Regions from separate parts of the Homo sapiens genome. Here region 2 is linked to region 1. The links are contacts of gene promoters, found by promoter capture Hi-C in human tissues and cell types (Jung and others, 2019). All regions are on one chromosome and are shown on one strand. Each heading gives the region's core, a stretch centred on a gene start or on the middle of the fragment in contact. The rest is flanking DNA. Distances are from core to core; before and after follow the strand shown. Region 1 holds the start of PCSK2 (proprotein convertase subtilisin/kexin type 2). Region 2 overlaps LOC105372544 (a long non-coding RNA gene).

The links. Contacts are between HindIII fragments. The study calls those that stand out against the background at their distance.
Region 2: a fragment that was not itself captured here is called in contact with the fragment with the promoter of PCSK2 in region 1 in 4 of the 25 tissues and cell types used here (adrenal gland, heart right ventricle, hippocampus and 1 more).

The regions. Positions count from the first base shown.
Region 1 is chr20:17,225,563-17,228,597 of GRCh38, reverse strand. PCSK2 (proprotein convertase subtilisin/kexin type 2) reads right to left here and starts at 1,558. Exons shown (of 12, transcript NM_002594.5): 1 at 1,116-1,558. The coding sequence starts at 1,292. The HindIII fragment of the contact is 16,215 bases long and covers 1-3,035 here.
Region 2 is chr20:17,128,164-17,131,198 of GRCh38, reverse strand. All of the region lies in intron 1 of LOC105372544 (a long non-coding RNA gene), which reads right to left. Among named protein-coding and RNA genes, the nearest start is that of PCSK2, 97 kb to the left of the region's middle. The HindIII fragment of the contact is 3,310 bases long and covers 1-3,035 here.

The sequences.
Region 1 (3,035 bases), core at 309-2,808:
TCCTGGGATCAGGAGCGAGATGGAGCCTAAAATCTCAGGGACCTCCACCCAGCCCTCTGGTAGCCACATCTCTGTCCTTTGGGTTCCCCTCGCCCCACCTTCTCTCTGCACCCACACTCCACCCCAGCCTGCGCCAGGTCCCCTAAGGACACTGGAGAACCCTGATACATCTTTTGCAGGAGAGACACGCAGGTCAGCCACAGCCCCCACCCAGCGCCCTTCTCTCTGTCCTCCCAGGATGAGTACCCTGGAGTCTCCAAAGGAGATCCAAGGTGTCCAAAGCTGGGAGGCTCACCTATCTGCTCAAACTGTCGAACTCTGGCAACTTCTTGGAATGGGGATCCCCACGCTCTAGTGGGAAAGCCAGGCTGGCCGCCCACGCATCAGGAGAGGACACCTCGACTTCTCCGTAGGGAATCCCCCTCAAAATCCACCTCTCCAGCTCCTGTAGCCGGGAGTTGAGAACTAGGGAGCCAACCAGAAGTGCGCTCCAGGGGTGGGCGGTCGTGGGCGGGGGTGAGGGCGCAGAAGTTCCGCCCCGATTTTAGAGACCAGTTTCTTTCCAAATCTAGAGTCAGGAAGCCGTTGTTCCCGGAGAGGAGCAGGGACCGAAGTCCCTGGGAGGGAAGTCCTCCCGGCGCGGGGTGGGAGAAACACCGAGGTGAATTGCAGTGTCCAAACGTCCAGCCTCGTCTGTAGGAAACTATTCTTTCTCCGGGGGATGGGGGTGGGGGAGACTTCCCTGGCCAAGTAGCCAACGCCAGGCTTAGCTGTTCAGGGCTTCATCCCTCCATCCCCAGGCAGCCTCGAGAACTTGGTACCTCGGACAGCATCCCCGGAGCATGGCATCCTGTGAAAGGTGTTATCCTATTTTCGCCATCAAGTCAAAGAGCAGTAAATTATTTTGATGACCTTACTAGTACAGATGAAGGACATTTTAATTACATAACCGGTGAAAGATCACCGGAGGCAATATCGTGTTAAAGAGCCCATGGCAGAATATCTGCATCGCATGAGAAAGAGAGAAAACTTGCAAATCTGCAATGAGATTGCGCAGGGCTGCCCCCCCGTCCCCCCGTTTTGAAACAACATGCGAAATGCATGGGAGAGCTTACCTTTCGGACTCCAAAGCCGTGTTCTGCTGCAACTTGGCGAGCTTTGTCCTCTCCCCCTTTATGCAACTCCACAAGAAAATGATTCGTGAAGACCGGTCGCTCAGCAGATGCAAAAACCATGACACAGAAGAGGAACCCGGCGGCCGCCTTCCACTGGGAGACACAACCACCCTTCATCCTTCTTTGGGAGTGAAAAGTGGTGCTAGGAGGCGCGCAGGCTGGCGGAGCAGGGGACTCGGAGGGAGGGTGCAAATAAAGAATTCTTATATATAGTTTTTAAAAAAATCTTTGTATAGAGAAAGAGACTGAACAGGGTCTTGGAAAGCAGCGAATCAGTGTGTGTTCTCCAGCATCTGGCTGGAGGGGAAGCCGTGCAGTCAGGCGGCCCGGCGCGCGGGCAGGGGTGCGAATGTGGGGAGCTGTGTGTACCGGAGAGAAAGAGCGAGTGTAGGTCTGTGCTTGATGCTAAATCTGCATTTTCAGCTCCTCCTCAGCTCCAATTCCCTAGGGGCTGGGGGAGAGCACCAGCTCGGGTGACGTGAGTCCGCCAGCGGCCAATGAGGGCGGGGGAAGCGGCGGGCCCCGCCCTGGGCCGCCCCGGGCCCGCCCCCGCCCACCCCCGGCCCGGCCCGGCCCGGCCGCCTCCGCCTTCTGGGGGCGCAGCGCAGCGCAGCGCAGCGCAGCGAGCCCGCGCCCCCGCCCCTTTCAGCACCGGAGAGCTCCCCCATCTCAGCCTGGCCCGCCGCGCGCCCAGGAAAATCCCCCCAGCTGTAATCAGGCCAGCGGCGGCGGAGTGATGTCATTGTTTGTGGGAATCTGTAGGCTCTGGGAAGGGAATTACGGTGTGTGCCGCTCTCAGAGGCCCCGAGGGGAGCAGGGGCGCCGGCCTCTGTGCCTCTTCCTGCTTGTTTCCCGCTGCAAAAACACCTCTCTCTCTCTCTCTCTCTCTTTCTCTCTCTCTCAAACACACACACACACACCCAAGGCATACTTGCCTCCCCTTATCCGAATAACAAAGCAAATATTAACCCTCCTCCCACCACTTTGGGCAAATCCCCGGGGAGGTTTGCTCTCCTTGGCACCAGGAGGGTTGGGGAAAGCACCTTCTAGGGGTGATCCATGGGGGGCGAGAGTGCAAGGACGAGCCCTTGTTTTTTGTAGGCTCCAGGCAGGTCCGGAGCGAAGCGGCTGGGAAGCCCAGCAGGAGACCCGGCTCGCCCCACCCGCGATGGTGACTGGAGGAGGCTCCTCTAGGAGTCCTGGCTGCACCTCCAAGATCTGCCTTCAGGAGAGACGCGGCCGGGGTGGACACGGCGGGAGGTGCATTCTCAGACCTGGGGACGTTCCACTGCACAAGGACAGCGAGGGTGCTAGTTGGGGAACGCATAGCCACCGATCCCAGGCGCCGGGCCAAGTCGCCCGCTGAACGTCTTCTACTGGAGGCGAATTCGGGCGCAGCGACGGGGGGCAGGGGCAACTAAGTTATCCGGTTAAGAAACGTGCACTCGCACTGGACTCTGCTAACTGCTGACGACGGACTCCGCTTCTTGCCTGAGAGGGAGGAAGCACGAACGTTCTGTATGTAACGAAATGAGGACGACTGTTTCAAAGCTACTCAAATATTGTTGTGTTAAAGAGTATTTACACTGATCTCATTGTATCATTTAGCTTCAAAGCTCAAAATTCTGCTTTACTTAGATAAGAGGTAAGAGATCTTTTCTTAGGGGCTTAAGTGCATGCAATTCAGAGAGAGAGGAAGAGACTATTTATACCATCGACACGTTACACACACATTCTCATGTATACACATATTCCTCTCTTTTTATTTTAGCTTGAAGTCCAAATCTACACAAGTCAGAACCTATGCAAGAAAAGCACCATCGGTAGAAATGAATACACTTTGAATGCCATGGACCACCC
Region 2 (3,035 bases), core at 216-2,715, 97 kb after region 1:
TTTGGGTGTGCTTGTCCACTTAACCTGATCAGTCTGAGTTTGCAGAGGGAAGCCATTCTGCTCCTACAAGTGCGACTTTCCACTTTTCTTTTCTGATTGGTCTTATAGCTTATATCTCAGAAAGCAACCTTAATCCTTTTATTTCTTACTTCTTGTGGGAGGGAGGAGGAGTACAACTATTGACAAGAGAATGCACAGTAGTCAAGGTGGAGAAGCTGGTTTGGACTAAGGTGATGTTGGTGGGATGGAGGGTGGTTCAGTGAGAGAGAGAATGGAGTTCAGGATGGTACAGTCAGGTCTGTCAGGACTCCATGCAGGCCCCTTCACCATGCTGGTGCCTCTATCCCCAGTGGGTATGAGTGTTGCTTGCTAATGGCTCCCAGCGTCCTCCTTCTCTGACCTCAGGCAATGGAGCATACTCACCTAGAAAAGTGGTGGGAGTGGGAAGCTTGTAACCAATGACTCACTGAGACCAGAGTAACAAAGCCCCATTTTCTTGTCTCAAAGTAAGCCAACTCTTGTGTTGCTCATGCTCCACAGATGTCCATGGCATCAGGTTGATGCTAGATTCCAGCTGCACCCATGTCTTTTGCCACGTTCTTGCTTCTGCCTTGTCTGGCTTCCTGCATAGCCTGGTGTTTCCTGAGGGCTCCCTTGCAATGCATCAATTGGACAGAAGTCCCCTTCTGAGCCTCTGTGTCTAAGAAACCCAACCTAAGACAGACTCCAAGGTTTCTGGTTTGAGTAACTAGGTAAATAGTTAACATTTACCTAGAACATTTACTGAAATAGGGAACACCAGGGTATAAACAGGTGCGAGGGAGAAAAATGAAGGATTCAGTTTGTACTTGCTAAGTTTAAGATGTCTATGACACCTGATGGAGACATCAAACAGACAGCTGGATATCAGAGCAGGAAATTCAGATGAGAAGTTTGGGCTACAGATGTGAGGATCAAATCAAAGAATATAATTTAGACTGGAGGGTCAGGGCATAGTTCCCTGAAGAAGTGATATTCATTCACCACTTGAAGTCTGAGCAGGAAATAGTGAGGCCATGAGTGGAAGAAAGAGCCTTCCATGTAGAGGGAACAACAGGTGTGAAGCCTGAGCCTTTTCTTATTGATGTCAGAGGTGGGGAATTTCTTAAGTCTTTGATTCCAGATGCATCGCTTAACCATTGTCAAAGTAAGCAATATTTCTTTGAAGTTCATAATTTAGGGGGCATTTGTTGCTAAGTGACATCCTCATCTTATTTTCCTGGTATTTTTCAGGCAGATTCTATGTCTAGCAATAGGCAAAATTCATTAAGTAGTCTTATTTAAAAAAAAAAATACTTGAGTGTCAAAGAGCTTGTAATTTTGTGCTATCAGATGACGTTGAAATGCGCGGAGGCATTGTTAATAGGAAGCAAGGAGGATTCAGTCAGGGGCCAGCAGAAGGGACCCTGGGAGAAATATTAATAAATGGTAATTTTGGTTATGGGAAGCTTAAAAAAGAATTTAACAGTGAGAGAATTAAAAGGAAGTGAAAGTGAGCAAGAAAGGTAAAAATGAGGTAAACGCCGAGCAAGGGAATAATGGTGATGCAGAAAGCACATACTAACTGAGTTGGAGAGAGGATTGACTGCAGAGCGGAAAAATTTCCAAGATAAAAGCTGGACACATCCAAACCCATAAGGAGAAAGATTCCAAATGCAATAAACAGGGAAAGCCAGCTCTTGAATTGGGGTCCTGGGACAGGATCACCTGGGAGCTGGGAGCATCTTGATAGAGAGACTGCCTGACTGTCACCCCAGCCAAAGGATGGTTAGTGCGGTCACTGTCTTGCCATAGAGCCTCAGAGCTCATCATGTCTGCAGAGGAAAGGGGCCTTGTTACATAAGCAGGGTGTTTACACCTGGCCCATCACCAAGGGAAACACTAACTCCCCACACAAAGAAGAAAAGCCCCAGCGAGAAAAAGTCCTTGCAGAGCGCAGGCCTGTGGCCTCTGCAGGTAGGACTGATGAAGAGATATAATCAAGTGTTCTTGCTGCAAATACGCATGTTAAGAACTTGGGTTATTTTTATGTGCCGTGTAATGGCAATTAAAGGCCCAAAAGAAAAACAACCCATGACTCAAAGGACAGCTTAACTGAAGAGAATACGCTGAAATGAAAAGTGATTCAAGCTTCCCTCTAACCTCTCTCTTTGCCAATAAAATAAATCTAGAGGATCAGGCAAGTCTACATAGATGTCATACAGTTCTGATCTCTCTTTTGGCTTGCTCTTCCTAAAGAAGATGACAGCAAAGAGAGAGGGTGTTAGCCTGCATCTGCTCTGACTGTGTGATCTTGGGCAGGTCATTTATCTCCTGCAGAGCTTCAGCTTCTCTTTTGAGAAATGAGTAAGGGATTTTTTTCCCCCAAATCTCTGAGGTCTTTTCTAGTTGAATAGTTAAATTCCAGAAATCATTTTACTTGATAATGCCACATTTTCCAGAGTCCAACCAGAGAAAGCAGAAGGTTTGTGATAAACGAATGCAAAGAAAGAGTGCCCGCAGAGGAGAAACCCAGGTGAGTGGACATGGGCTATGTTCATGGTTCATCTTCCTGAGGTGTCCTTCCCAGCGTCTATTTCCCACAGACTACCTTTTGCTTTTTTGATTTCTATTTCTGCTGAGACAGACATTAAAAAAATTATATATCCATGTAACTTTCTCAATTGTCAGTGGCTCAAAGCCAATACATAGAATAGAGAATAAACAGCAATTTCAATTCCTCATTCCTTCCTTGAAGTCTTGGGAAGTTAAGTCAACAAGATGTCCATTGTTCTCTCATAGACAGCATCTCCAGGGTGTCTTTTCATGTGCATATACAGAATAATTCCAAAGTTCCTACTCATTAGTAGGTTCAAAGAAAAAGAAAATTTTCTGAAATGGAAAAGCCTACTGTTTTTTGTTCTCTGTTATCACTTTTGATTTTATTATTGAGTGAAATGGCAATTAAAGGCACAATAAACTTAAAGCTAGTTTATTAAAGGGGGGCACCTTTCATA